Linked DNA regions of Homo sapiens: all the other regions are linked to region 2. Evidence: promoter capture Hi-C in 16 types of primary human blood cells and fetal thymus (Javierre and others, 2016). All regions are on one chromosome and are shown on one strand. Each heading gives the region's core, a stretch centred on a gene start or on the middle of the fragment in contact. The rest is flanking DNA. Distances are from core to core; before and after follow the strand shown.

What was found. Contacts are between HindIII fragments. The CHiCAGO score rates a contact against its expected background, and 5 or more counts as called.
Region 1: a contact is called between a fragment that was not itself captured here and the fragment with the promoter of AVEN in region 2, in 2 of 17 cell types (total CD4 T cells and naive CD8 T cells). The highest score is 5.5, in total CD4 T cells.
Region 3: a fragment that was not itself captured here is called in contact with the fragment with the promoter of AVEN in region 2 in 9 of 17 cell types (fetal thymus, activated CD4 T cells, total CD8 T cells and 6 more); the score reaches 11.2 in fetal thymus.

Annotation. Positions count from the first base shown.
Region 1 is chr15:34,607,582-34,612,622 of GRCh38, reverse strand. No RefSeq gene overlaps it. Among named protein-coding and RNA genes, the nearest start is that of GOLGA8B, 26 kb to the right of the region's middle. The HindIII fragment of the contact is 1,108 bases long and covers 1,372-2,479 here.
Region 2 is chr15:34,035,745-34,040,628 of GRCh38, reverse strand. It overlaps AVEN (apoptosis and caspase activation inhibitor), which reads left to right and starts at 1,425. Exons shown (of 6, transcript NM_020371.3): 1 at 1,425-1,849. The coding sequence starts at 1,583. All of the region lies in intron 1 of CHRM5 (cholinergic receptor muscarinic 5), which reads right to left. RefSeq lists silencers at 1,333-1,502, 1,683-1,892, 1,983-2,042, 2,393-2,452. The HindIII fragment of the contact is 8,272 bases long and covers 1-3,209 here.
Region 3 is chr15:34,589,018-34,593,377 of GRCh38, reverse strand. No RefSeq gene overlaps it. Among named protein-coding and RNA genes, the nearest start is that of GOLGA8B, 7.5 kb to the right of the region's middle. The HindIII fragment of the contact is 8,309 bases long and covers 1-4,360 here.

The DNA of each region.
Region 1 (5,041 bases), core at 676-3,175, 570 kb before region 2:
ACTGTTGGAAAATATTGCTTAACATGATTGATCTTCCATTTGACTGACCTGCATTTACACCCATGCCTATTTTGTGTAGGTGATCAATTCATTTGTCAAGAGTGCTTTTATAATTATGCATGAAAATGCACAACAGATTGTCATTCCTCAAAAATGCTACTATTATCACCTGTAATTAAGTCTACCAAATTTACACTAGAAAAAAAAAACACAGAGAGAACAATGGGTAGTTGTTAGATCATTTAGCAACCAGAGGTAAAAATTAGTAGCAGAAACAAAATTGTTGTTATTTCTCAAATTATTTTTCAAAGGACGTTGTTGCCTTATTAACTAATATTTGATTGGGGTCATTTACAACCATTAATCTAGAAAAGAAATTCTTTTACTGCAATGTGCCTCCTCTATGTACGTGTGTGAATGAGTGTCTGTCCATTTTCTTTATTTAAAGTTCCAAGTTACTTATTCATTCATTAGGTAATCTTTTCACATGGAACAAAATTTTTGTGGTAATTTATGATAATTGAAAAAAAAAGATTTGGCGTGATTATAAACCTATTTAGATATTTCTGCCTGCATCTATATCATATCAAAAAAAGTAAAATCTGTTGATTCTCACAACTTACTAGCCAAGTCTTAGATGCTGGTTGAAAATGAAGATACCTGGGTTAGTTCCCAAAAACTGTGATTAATTTGGTTGGGAGTAGGAGCTAGAAGTCTATTCTTAAGAAACTGTAGTGAATCTGATATTAGTTGGTGTGGGAAACAGGCTTAGAGAAATATCGATCTATTGCAAAAGGCGCACTTCTCTTTGGACACCTGAAAAAAACAGCATGCATTAAATGCATTAAAACTCTATTAAGGATACTTCCATAAAATGGTTCCAAAAATATATTGATATAGCATATAAGATTTTGATAATTTTCAGGGTAATGCTGATAATGTTTTTAAATAAATCAGTTCATTTGTTTTGGCTTTTCCTTCTCCCTGTTTCTTGCTAAATATTGTAGATCTGCCACCTTTTAAAAAATAGATGACACTTCCACTTCCCACTCCCACTAATATACTTACAGCTCGTCTTCAGTGAAAATTCTATTGAATGTTCTTGTGCTCCAACAGAAAGGAAAAACACAGTAGCACTTTATTACTTAATGTTGGAGAAGTTACTCACCTTGTCTGAAATTTATTTCCTGTCCTGTAAAATTGTGCTAATACAGTACAGTGTTATTTTAAGGATCAAATTTAAAAATGCATGTGAAAGGTCTTTCGAAAATAAAGAGGTGTTGTAAGAATGTGAGGCATCACCCCCCCGCCATGCATTCATTTGAATCATGCCATTTAAGAATTTTTTTATTGTGTTAAAGTAAAAAAGCTTTTAAAAATGAATTAAACCAAAGTAAAGTTGAATTAAATTAAAAATTAACACTATCAAAACCCTATTCTGCTATTCTATGAAAAAATAAATTCACTAAACAAAAAATATACTGCATTTGGCCAGGTGTGGTGGCTCATGACTGTAATCCTACCACTTTGGGAGGCCGAAGCGGGTGGATTGTCTGAGCTCAGGAGTTCGAGACCAGCCTGGGCAACATGGTGAAACCCAGTCTCTACTAAAACACAAAAAATTAGCCGGGCGTGGTGGCGGGCGCCTGTAGTCCCAGCCACTCGGGAAGCTGAGGCACAAGAATTGCTTGAATCCAGGAGGTGGAGGTTGCAGTGAGCTGAGATCACACCACTGCACTCCAGTCTGGGTGACAGAGACAAGACTTGGTCTCCAAAAAATTTAAAAAAAAAAAGTATTGCATTGTTGAAGGTTCACACAGAACAAAACATGCTGTTTAAATTTTTCCACTTATTTGTAAAAAGGAGAATCTTAGTCCACTGCTGAAGAAGAACATTTTCATGAATGTTTTGCTTGAGCTTGCAAAGCTAAACAAACCTCTGGTACTTTATATAAGAGAGATATTCTTAGAAGCCTCTGCCACCTAGTGTACAAAGGCCATCCTAGAAATCTGAATGACTTGGTTTAATTGCCTTATCTGCTACATCTTGTCTTCAGAGAATTATCTTTAAGTATATCTAGGTCAGATTTGAAGTTATAATTTGAGGTGGGAATAACACACACTGCATTTTCTAAAGAGCATCTGGCATGAGAATCAATACATTTCATTTTCATTTTAGCAGCACTTTAAAGTCCCATTTATAAATGTTTTAATAAGGCAGTAAGAGACTCCTGGGTGTGTTTTAGTCTTTCATTAATATATACCTCTTGTGTGTTGCAAGATACATGCTTACTGAATAAGCCTTTGACCATTCAAAGTCAAATTAATGATCCAATAAAGCAAAGCCCATGGTATCTTAATGGCAGCAAAATACACTCTTTAATTTAGAAGATAAAATATTATATTATATTTTCCTCTCCAACAACTCGTAAGTATATGCATAAAAGAAGTATCAAGGGATTCAAAGAAATAGCGAAGCTTCTTTAGCCATATTTTTACACACAACATGTCTCCCCACCTCTCATTTTTAGCTTTAGATTTAATTATTTCCAGCTCAGTTTTACAGAGGAGTGGAAGGTGGAACTTGAGGGTTGGCAGTGGAGGGGTTTGTAAAGCTATACTCTTTAAAAATGTGTTTAAAAGTAAAACGTCAACCACACCGCTTCCTCTTTCCGTCCTGTCATTGTTTTCAAGGCACCCACTCCCCTGCCCAGTTTGCTAAAGGCAGAGGGAGATGTGTGAAGGTTATGTTCTGCCGTGTGGTTCAGAGAAGCAAAATTTTCCCGCAGCTCTAAATCAGTTCACAATGAACTAGATCTCAGCAATGAGCTTTCGCTGTCTGCTCATTCTGCTACCTGACATTCGTGAGAGGAACCAGATGGCCCTCATGTCAATCTGGCCTGCCAGGTTTGGTACTGAGATTTCATCTCCTTCCCTTCAGCTGCCTGAGCCTGAGTGAAGTTCACATGCACACATCTCCAGTAAAATCTCACTGTAATGTGCAGGTCTTTCTTGCACTTTTGCCCTGCCAAACCTGCCTCTCTTAGGGACTCAAGACGGCATAATGCCTTGTTATTTTAATGTGCTCTGCAATGATTGAACTGTTCTCAGGAGATCATTTTTGCACATCAAAACCCATTAAAATTAGCAAGAATTGTCGGGAAATGAGCAAATAAAAAAGAATAATTCATCTCTCTCTCTCTCTGTTTTAAATTCGCCAAGCCTCCTTTTGATGGCTAAAAGCAACTGGTAGCAGAAAGCATGCATCAGTTTAAAAAAAAATTAGCTTTAAGCAAAAGATGTCAAGAAATTCTTCCAAATTATGTGTTATGATAGCAAGCTGGTGAGCACTGGGATAAAAACCCATGTCATAATTGTAGAGGATGTGCTAAGACGTCGGGGGAGCAAAATCCATGAGTGAGTACAGATGATACCTATAGCAGTACTACTGCATCTTTCTGGGGAAAACATGCAGCAAACATCCTGATCAGAGACTAACAGGCCCTCACAAGAGTGACCTTTTTTTAAAATTGAGAATAATTTTTATTGTTAAGAAAGCATAACCAGCAATAAAAGTACTATTTTTGGTTCTAAATGATAGAAAACCAAATATATTTTGTTCATGGTACAAGGAAGCCTAAGGTCAAGTTGATTACAGAAGCAACTAGTTCCAGATATTCAATAAGATCTTCATCTCTCTTCTGTTTCTGTTGTATTTCTATCTGGGCATCTGTCTCCTTTTCTCCGTGTATCTTTGCCCCTGTATAGTTCTTTCTGCATATCTCTCTGCATTTTCTGTCTCTGTCCCCCTGTTGTGTCTCTTTCACTGCAGTGCCTTTCTATTTTTCTAATTTATTGTCACTATTTATCTGCATTTTTCTATCTCTGTGTTTCTTTATGCATATCTCTATTTTTCTGCATTTCTCTTCCTTATCACCTCATATCTTTTCTCATCTCTCTCCCTCTGTGTGTGTGTGTGTATGTGTTTGTGTGTGTGTGTCTGTCTCTGTTACATATGTTTCTAGAATGTCTACCAGAGACAATTTAACAATTTTAGGAAATTTAATTTAACAATTAATTTAAAACTTAATTTAACAATCTAACAATTATTAAACTTAATTTAACAATCTTAGGAAAGATTCTGATTGGCCAAGCCTGGGTAACATGCACACCTTTTAAACACACCATCCTGTGTATGGAACACTGACAGCCAGCATTGTGGAGAGTAACTTTTTCTAAATAGTGAAATTTATGGTAAGAAATAACATTTATATCACAAACCAATACATACACACATACATACATATGACCAGGTACAGACATGTGTATGTCTGTATGTGTATAAAATCAAATGGAAAATTTCACAAAAATAATACTTAACTATGAGTGATATATTCCTCTTTTTGTATTAAAATATAAACATTCTCTCTAAAATGAGATGTAAATTGATTTCATCACCCTCTAATGGGCTACAACTTCACAGTCTGAAAATCACTTTTTAAACTATCTTCATTTTAGAAATTTTATGAACAGTGTGAATCATTTAATTAACATCTCAATGCTTATAGTACTAAAATGATTTCTCACCAATAATATAAAATGATGTAATCATTTAGTTAATGACAAGTTTTGGTTTCCATCATAATTACTAAAAGTTAAGCAACCCATCATCAAATAGTTTGAGTTCTGGGTACTTGCAAGATATTATTTTGACTATTTTTAAAACATCTGCTTGGTAAGAAGGAAGCAAAAGCACCATCATCTATTGCTTTTCTACTATATTCTTTACTCTTACTTTTGTGTTAATTAGTCCCTTTAATCTTTGTAAAAATCCAGTCAGAGAAAAGTATTAGTATAAATATTATTATCTTCTTTTTATGAATGAGGATTCTGAGAACCAATGACGCTCAGGTAACTTATTTAAAACATTCATTTCTCAAGTAGAAGAGACAGAATGAGTCCATGCCTTTTGATTGCAACTCCAAGGTTCTTTCTTTAATATTATGCTAATACTCAGTACTACATGCTATGTCTTTTGATAA
Region 2 (4,884 bases), core at 176-2,675:
GAAGTTACTTAACATCTGTTTTAGATTCCTGATCTGTAAAATGGAGACAACACTAGCTTACCTCGTAGGCCAGCTATTAGTCCCAAATGAAGTGATATGAGAAGTATGTAGAATAGTGTTTGGTGCATATAAGTGCTCTACAAGTGTTACTATTTTTAAGACTGTTTCTCTGGAGTTGACAATCCTTCAATAGTTCCCCCTGTCTGGAAGGCGCCCCTACTCCCATTTACCAACCAGGCAAACTCCTACTCAACCATTAGGCTTTAGCTCAGGGGTCTATTTCTCATGAAGCCTTGGGTAACCCGTTTAAATATAATTTAACTTTTCTTCTTTGGACCTTGATCTTGAATCTCTCACTGCACTCAGCAACACGGTACTGTAATCATCTATTCACACGACTAGATTATCTTCCTTGTGGGCAGTGAGCTACTTGAGGGCAGGGGCAAGGTTTTTTTTTTGTTTTTGTTTTTAATTTCAGGACATAGCACTGTGCCTGATGCAGAGTAGGCAATTAGAAGCAATGAAAAGTATTAACTATGTATGGATATAGGAAAGAACCAGAAAGTACTGAGGGGGAAGAAAACACTTATTCTGCTAGGCTGACATTTTAGCCCTTGCTTTCATTATTTTCAGGTGGTTTCAGTCCCAAGTTAAAAACTGCTTTCATGCATCTGTGTAACCAACTGTTCCCCTTCCTGTTTTCTCCTTGGTTGAAAGAAGGGACTGGAGTGAGACCGCCTTAGAATGCCAGTTCCACCACTACCTAGTTATTCACTTTAGTCAAGTTTTTTTTAACCTTTCCAAGGCTGTTACCTCACTGCAGAATAAGGATGACAGTCATCCCTACCTCATAGAGCTGTTATGAGAATGAAATACTCATGTGCTCAATAAATGTCAGCTGTAGTAGTCATTTCTACAGAAATTCTGCTGAGGACTTTGACGCCCTTTCTAGCCATCTCCCAGTTTCGCACTGTTCTCTCTCCCACGTGCTGCAGTCCACCTCTCACCAGACACAAACTCTTGTCTTTACATCCACACCTCCTGAACCCTGACTTCGGTATAGTTTTAAAATGATACACATTCGTTGCTGAAAATTAGATTAAACGGAGGAAAAAAAATTAACTCACTTCAAATCTCAGCAGTTAACCACTAACATTTTAGTATGTATTTGTTTAGACCTTTTCTTATGCAAATACATACGTTTAAACTTTTTTTTTCCGAGAGTTCACATCATACAAATTTTATTTTATGACTCGTCCTTGCACTTAGCACGGTCTCTCCCCCAACCTATCTCTGATGCCTTGAGAATCCCCCCGCCCCGCTGCAGACCCCCACCACTTCCAGCTCCCAGCGGTCCGGCCTTCCCGCGGTCCCGGTTCCGGCCCCACCTGCGGGACGCCGGCCGCCCCGCCCCGCCCCGCTCCGCTGCGGCCGGCCTCGATCCCTAGCCCCGCACCCCGCGCCTCGCTGCTACCGGGCGCCTTTCGCTCGCGGCTCCTCCGTGCGGCCCGCTTCCGGTGGGGCCAGGGCGTCTCCGCCGCAGCTCGGCTCCCGCGCGCTCAGCACCGCCAGCGGCGGCCAGATGCAGGCGGAGCGAGGAGCTCGGGGAGGCCGTGGGCGGCGGCCAGGCCGCGGCCGGCCTGGCGGAGATCGCCACAGCGAGCGGCCCGGAGCCGCAGCGGCGGTAGCCAGAGGCGGCGGCGGAGGCGGCGGCGGGGACGGAGGCGGACGCCGGGGCCGTGGCCGTGGCCGGGGCTTCCGCGGCGCTCGCGGAGGCCGAGGAGGAGGAGGCGCCCCGCGAGGCAGCCGCCGGGAGCCGGGAGGCTGGGGCGCAGGGGCCAGCGCGCCGGTAAGAGGCGACGGCTGGTGGGGCTGGGACCGCGTGTAACTGGGGCAAGTGGGGCCGAGGCCGCCAGTCAAGAGCCGCAAGAGAGCGTGCCAGGCGCGCGCCAGACGGGCGGCGGCGCCGGCGCCTGCGCGGGACGGGCGGATGGTGGCGCGGGGGCGCGCCTGGTGGCGGGGGCGCGCCTGGGTATGCGCTTGGCCCTCGTGGCCTCCTGGCCGGGCTGGCGCGAGACAGTGGGGGTAGGAGGGCTTCCCAGCCTGCCCCAGGGTCCGGGTTAGGAACCCAGAGGCCAAGGCCGTGTGTCAGGGCTGCAAGTCTCGGCGGCCCGTGGGCCGGCTGGGCTGTCTGTACGAGTACCACTATGGGACGGAGGCGCGGCCACGACGTGGTCCCTCGGCAGCCTTTACGGGCACGCTCCTGTTATTAGGAGGGAAAGGATTTTTTGGTCTGTTTTGTTAACTGTCTGTGCAATGCCTAGTACACAGTAGGCGCATAATAAAAAGTTTGTTGAGTGAAAGAATGACCCCTACGACTGGACTCTAGTATTTGGGGGCGGGACCAGATGCATAGTTCTTTGTAATAGCGTAGTTCTCTTTTATTATGCCTGTATGTGTAGAAATCAGCGAGCACTGGGCTTTGTCGTTTTGAATTTTCAATTTATAAATGAGCAGTCAAGTTCTGAGTTTTAATAGCAATATCATCAGTCTTATTGACACATTCATAGAAGGAAGTTTTTGGAGATTGGAGCAGGGGATGATATATATGGGGGCAAAGCTAACCATATCTCAGCTAAAGGAGTTAGAGGACTGTCTTTTTATGAGTTGTTCTGTTACCTTAACATCTGTAGGACAAGACCATCTTTATATTCTGCATTCTTATGCACACTGATTTAAAAAATTCTTTTTTGCATGAGGCAAAATTTGCTCTTACTGAAGTATTTACAATATCTTGAGGGCATAGCAGATAAGATATCCCTAAAGAGAGTAGTTGTATACAGCAATACAGAGCTGGAAAAAAAAGTATAAAACTTAAATTTAAATGTAACAAACTTAAATCTTGTTAGGATTAAGATAGGTAATAGGCAAAACTTGAATGAGATATAAAAACATTTTTAGGGTCAGTTTACCTCGTGTAAACTGACAGAAACTAAGGTAAATGACAGAAACTAAGACCAACCTAGTGCCCACTATATATCACATTTTGTTCTTATAACTCTATTATATATATATAATATATATGTAATGTAGAATTATGTAATATAATAGTATGTAATTATATATTAACTACAATGTTATATATTATTTATATATCCATATATAGAGAGTAATCTTTATTTTTACAGGTTAACTGACTTGCCTAAGCTTTCACAGCTAGTGGCAGAGCTGGGATTTATATCAAGCTGCCCTTGAGTCAACAGTATTTTATCTCTTACTTTTTCGTGAACCAGTTACCACTTTATTGAGAACAAAGTAGATATTCCTTAGCTGCAGGGATCGTGCTTTAAGAGTAATTGTAGTAATGGTACATTTGGTGTTAACTATGGTGTCTGGCGCACAGGACTTTACTAATAAGTGTCTTTAAGTTGAATTGAGTGAGTGAAGGTGCTTCTGTTTTGTTAATCTCTGTTGAATTAAATTGGGTGAAATGATGGTATATATTTTTTTTTTTTTTTTGAGACGGAGTTTTACTCTTGTTGCCCAGGCTGGAGTGCAATGGCATGATCTTGGCTTGCTGCAACCTCCGCCTCCCGGGTTCAAGTGATTCTCCTGCCTCAGCCTCCCAAGTAGCTGGGATTACAGGCATGAGCCACCTTGCCCGGCTAATTTTGTATTTTTAATAGAGATGGGGTTTCACCATGTTGGTCAGGCTGGTCTCGAACTCCTGACCTCAGGTGATCCACCCGCCTCGGCCTCCCAAGGTGCTGGGATATGGATTACAGGTGTGACCCACTGCGCCTGGTCATGATGGTATATCATTAAAAGAAAGAATAATACAAGACTTTAAAAAATTTAAGATAGTATTGTAACACATTCTGTTAAAATTTTAGGCTTTTTCTTTTGTCGAGTTGGTCTTATCCCTTCATCATCATGTTTTCAGCCAAAGCTGGAGGGAGGGATGTTGGGCAGATTGTTCCTTAATTTTGGTTTGGATTGGTCATCTCTAAGTTCCTTCCATTTCTCAGATTCTGAAGTACTGTTTGTATTTAGTCTTGCTAGGACACCATTTTTGGTGCTTAACCATTACATGAGACAAGATTGATTGACTTTCCTGAAGCCTTCTTGTTCTCATATCCCATGGTGCATTTGTGCCCCAAGGAGAGAGTAACCGAAATGATCAAAGGAAAAAAAAATCATAATAGACTCCTAGCCATGTAAAGACCAGTTGTCCACCTTCAGAAACCAATTTTGTGTACACCTTTGCTTTCTATTTTGGACCACTGCATACAAATGGAAAACAAAATCAATCTAACCAACTTCTACATAGCTATGTAATACTCCAGGGTAACTTAGTTGAGTACTAAGTTGAGTACATCTCTTAGTCTCTTGCTCTTAAATCATTCCTTCTGTAAATGGTCTGAGCTCTAAGCTTACTGATTATGGGTGAGCATAATTATCTTCACGGAATACTCACTAGAAGCATTATTGTACTAGATACAATCATTAACTTTAAAAAAAAAACACAAAACTGGCTGGGTGTGGTGGCTCGCGCTTGTAATCCCAGCACTTTGGGAGGCTGAGGTGGGTGGGTCACTTGAGTCTGGGAGTTCGAGACCAGACTGGGCAACATAACGAGACCCCCTCTCTATAAAAAAAATACAAAACTGCCGAGCATGGCGGGGTGCATCTGTAGTCCCTGCTACAAGGGAGGCTGAAGCAGCCGGATTGTTTTGAGCCCCGGAGGTGGAGGCTGCAGTGAGCTGTGATCCTGCCACTGCACTCCAGCCTGGGCAATAGAGTGAGACTCTGTCTCAAATAACTAACTTACTAACTAAATGAATAAATAATCCCCCTATCACTGCCCCCAATACTAGGATTGTT
Region 3 (4,360 bases), core at 147-2,646, 550 kb before region 2:
ATTAAAACTAATTAGAAACTTTAGCAATTTTGTAGGATCAACATAAACACATTAGTCATATTTCTATACACTACTAATGAACATTGGAAATTGAAATAAAAGTAATTGTACCATTTGCAATAGCCTCAAAAAAAAAAAAAGAGAAACACTTATGGATAAATGTAACAAAAGATGTGCCAGACCTGAGGACTGAAAACTTCAAAACATTGCTAAGAAAGAATGATGAAAACCCTAGTAAATGGAGAAGCATTTATAGATTGAAAGACCCAATATTGGCCGGGCACGGTGGCTCACGCCTGTAATCCCAGCACTTTGGGAGGCCGAGGTGGGCAGATCGCGAGGTCAGGAGATCGAGACCATCCTGCCTAACACGGCAAAACCCTGTCTCTACTAAAAATACGAAAAATTAGCCGGGCGTGGCGGCGGGTGCCTGTAGTCCCAGCTACTCGGGAGGCTGAGGCAGGAGAATGGCGCGAACCCGGGAGGCAGAGTTTGCAGTGAGCCGAGATCGCGCCACTGCACTCCAGCCTGGGTGACAGAGCGAGACTCCGTCTCAAAAAAAAGAAAAAATAAAACAAAAGACCCAACATTATTAAGAGATCAATTCTCCCCCAAGCAATGAAATAATCAAATGTAAAAGCAAATGAACTTCAATCCTTAATTCGCATTGTATATAACACATAATTTGAAAGGGATTTTTGACATAAATATTATAGTTTAAAGAAGAAAAATTTCCAGAATAAGATATAGGAGAAATAACCAACATGGAGAAACTCTGTCTCTACTAAAAATATAAAATTAGCTGGGCGTGGTGGCACATGCCTGTAATCCCAGCTACTCAGGAAGGCTGAGGCAGAAGAATCGCTTGAACCCGGGAGGCAGAGATTGCGGTGAGCCGAGATCGCGCCACTGCACTTCAGCCTGGGCAACAAGAGCGAAACTCGGTCTCAAAAAAAAGATTTAAAAAAAAAAAGGTATAGGAGAAATATTTATGATCATTGGTATGGTAAAAATTCTTAATCACGATATGAAAAACACAACACATACACAAAGTGAAAAGACAAGCCACAAACCTAGAGAAATGGTTTTTTAAACACATATTTAATGTATATAAAAACCTTTCAATAATCAATAAAAACCTCATTAAAAAATCAAATAGGCACTCTCAAAAAGATGTACAGGTAGCAAAAAAGCAAAGCGAGTAAGGAAGGGAGAGCAGGAGGGAAGCTCAGAGAGGTCACTGGGAACTAAGTACTGCAGGACTTATTAGGCCATCCTAAGGCTTTCAAGTTCATTCTGAGAAATACAAAAACTTTGGGGCCAGGATTGGGGTGGTTCATGCCTGTAATCCCAGCACTCTGGGAGGCCAAGGCAGGTGCATCACAAGGTCAGGAGTTCGAGACCAGCCTGACCAACATGGTGAAACCCTGTCTCTACTAAAAATACAAAAACTAGCCAGGCATGGTGGCGGGCGCCTGTAATCCCAGCTACTCAGGAGGCTGAGGCAGAAGAATCGCTTGAACCCAGGAGGCAGAGGTTGTGGTGGGCCGAGATCATACCACTGCACTCCAGCCTGGATGACAAAGCGAGACTCTGTCAAGAAAAAAGAAAGAAAAGAAAGAAAAGAAGGAAGGAAGGAAGGAACTGACTTTGAATTATTGTAGTAGAGGGTGATGGACCTGACACAGATTTCCGGTCAGGAAAGGAAGAAAGGAAGGCAGGCAGGCAGGCAGGCAGGCAGGCAGGAAGAAAATGACTTTGAATCATTGTAGCAGAGGGTGATGGACCTGAAACAGATTTCCGCTTTGTTAGGAACAGATTATGCAGGGCAGGGGGAGGAGCAGAGAAGCAAGGGTGGAAGTAGGGAGAGCGGTTGGAATTAACGATGGAATCTCAGCAAAAGATTCAGAAATCCCAGAGGGAGATGATAGTGTACCACACCCGGGTGAAAGATGGCTGCATTTTGAATGTATTTAGAAGATCTGTGCAGATGGGCTGAATGCAGATTAATGTGGAATGTGGATAAGGTGAAAAGTCAAGATTGAAGACAAGATTTTGAGTCTGGGGAACAGAAAGCTGGAATTAGCATAAAAATGTGTTAATGACTGAGATCAAGGGTTTAGGAGAGAAGATCAGTTTTGTTTTGAACATCTGAAGTTTCAGATATTTATAGACATTGAGCTGAATATGCCAAGTAAGCAGTTGGATATACAAGCCTGAAATTTGTGAAAGACTGGGTTCATAAAATAAATATGTTAATCAATATCATATTGATGTATTTAAAGGCATAAGTCTGAATGATATCCTCAAGATTGCAAAGAGTACGTCAGTGGTTTTCAGCTGAAGGCAATTATTTCTCCCCAGGGTACAGCTGGCAATGTCTGAAGACATTTTTGGTTGTCACAGTTGGGGAATGAATTACTAGTGGCATCTAATAGGTAGAGGCTATTAGAGACCAGGGATGCTGCTGAACATCCTACAATGCACAGGATAGCCCCACATATAAAGAATTGTCTGACCCAAAATGTCAGCAGAGCCATGGTTTAGAAAGCCTGCTTCAAAGGGTTTCTAAGAGAAGAGAACGGAACCAGAGCCTGGGCTCTCAGGTGTACCAATATTAAAGATGGCGGAGAGAAGGGGAGAAATTAACAATGGAGGTTAGGAAAGATGACCAGTGAGAAAGAATCACAACCAAGAGAATGTGGAATCCGTGCAGCCACGAGAAGAAATGTACCAAACAACAGGGAGAAATAAAAAGTGTCAAATGCTGCTGCTAGGCCAAATAAAAAGATACTCAAGTAACCACCACTGGGCTTAGCAATGCAGAGGTCACTGGTGACATTAAACAAAGAAGTTTCGGTAGAGCAGTGTGAGGTGAAAGCAACTTCCGAATGTTCGGCAACATACGATACATTTTCTGATCTGGTTATTGCCAACCTTTGAATTCAAAAATTAAACTAAAAATCATATATGGCTATAACCATAGCATAGTGAATCAGCTACTCTCTGACATCCTAATCAAATAGGTAATTTTAAGTGGGATGACTTTTTCCTGCTTTATTCCTCCCACTCCCCAGTTTACAACTTGTTAAATCGACTGGAATAAAATTAATATCTACCCAGAGACACAGGACTTTTTACTCAGATGAAGAATATTTTTCAAATAATTCTTTTGATACCAATTTTTTTAATCTTCAAACTTAAAAAAGACAATCTCAAATAAAATTATACTATATTTTGAATAGATGAACACTAAACTATTTTTTATATATACTTTAAGTTCTAGGGTACATGTGCACAACGTGCAGATTTGTTACATATGTATACATGTGCCATGTTGGTTAGCTGCACCTATTAACTCGTCATTTACATTAGGTATTTCTCCTAATGCTATCCCTCCCCCATCCCCTCACCCCACGACAGGCCCCGGTGGATGAACACTAAACTTTTTAACTATCAGGATTGTCCATTTTATATCCTTACTTTTAGTGGCTTAAATAAACCTCATTTTCTTTTATGGCAGTACATGTTTCTCACCTCTGTTCACAGAGTTTCTAATCTGTCTCTGATTTAATATGTCTCATAGTTTCTAATATGCCTCTGCTTTAAAGTACTTCCTAAAAATTTTATCCACACTACAGACTACAACTTGTCCATCTGGGAAGACATTATCTAAATACATTTATGATTGTAAATTCTCTTTTAGGACCTTTATATTAACCCCACACCCCGCCATTGGTAAGAAATCATATTTGAGAAAAATGTGGGAAAGCTAGCATTTGATTTGATGGCATTAATCACTGATATACAGATGTGCTAATTATTGACTTCAGCAGAACTTTTAACACAACTACTTTAATGAGTTTTTGAAGGGGAAAATGTTGGTTATATACTTTCTGACAAAAAATAGTCAAGCACGGTAGCTCACACCTATAATCCCAGCACTTTGTGAGGCCGTGGCAGGTGGATCACTTGAGGTCAGGAGTTCGAGACCAATCTCACCAATATGGTGAAACCCCATCTCTACTAAAGGAAAAAAAATACAAAAATTAGCCGGGTGTGGTGGCATGTGCCTATGACTCAGGAGGCTGAGGCATGAGAATCACTTGAACCCAGGAGAAGGAAGGTGCAGTGAGCCAAGATCGCACCACTGCACTTCGGCCTGAGCCACAGAGTGAGACTCCATCTCAAAATGAATAAATAAAGAAATAAAATAAAAATAAAAACTGTTTTTTTAAATGTAGGCAGAACTGTCTTTTGTCAGTATATAGATACGTGTGTATCTTCATTGGACTCAGTGGGGACAAAAGTTTTACTTCAAGTGCATATAATTTCATATTATCTTTAAATTTTGTCTTCA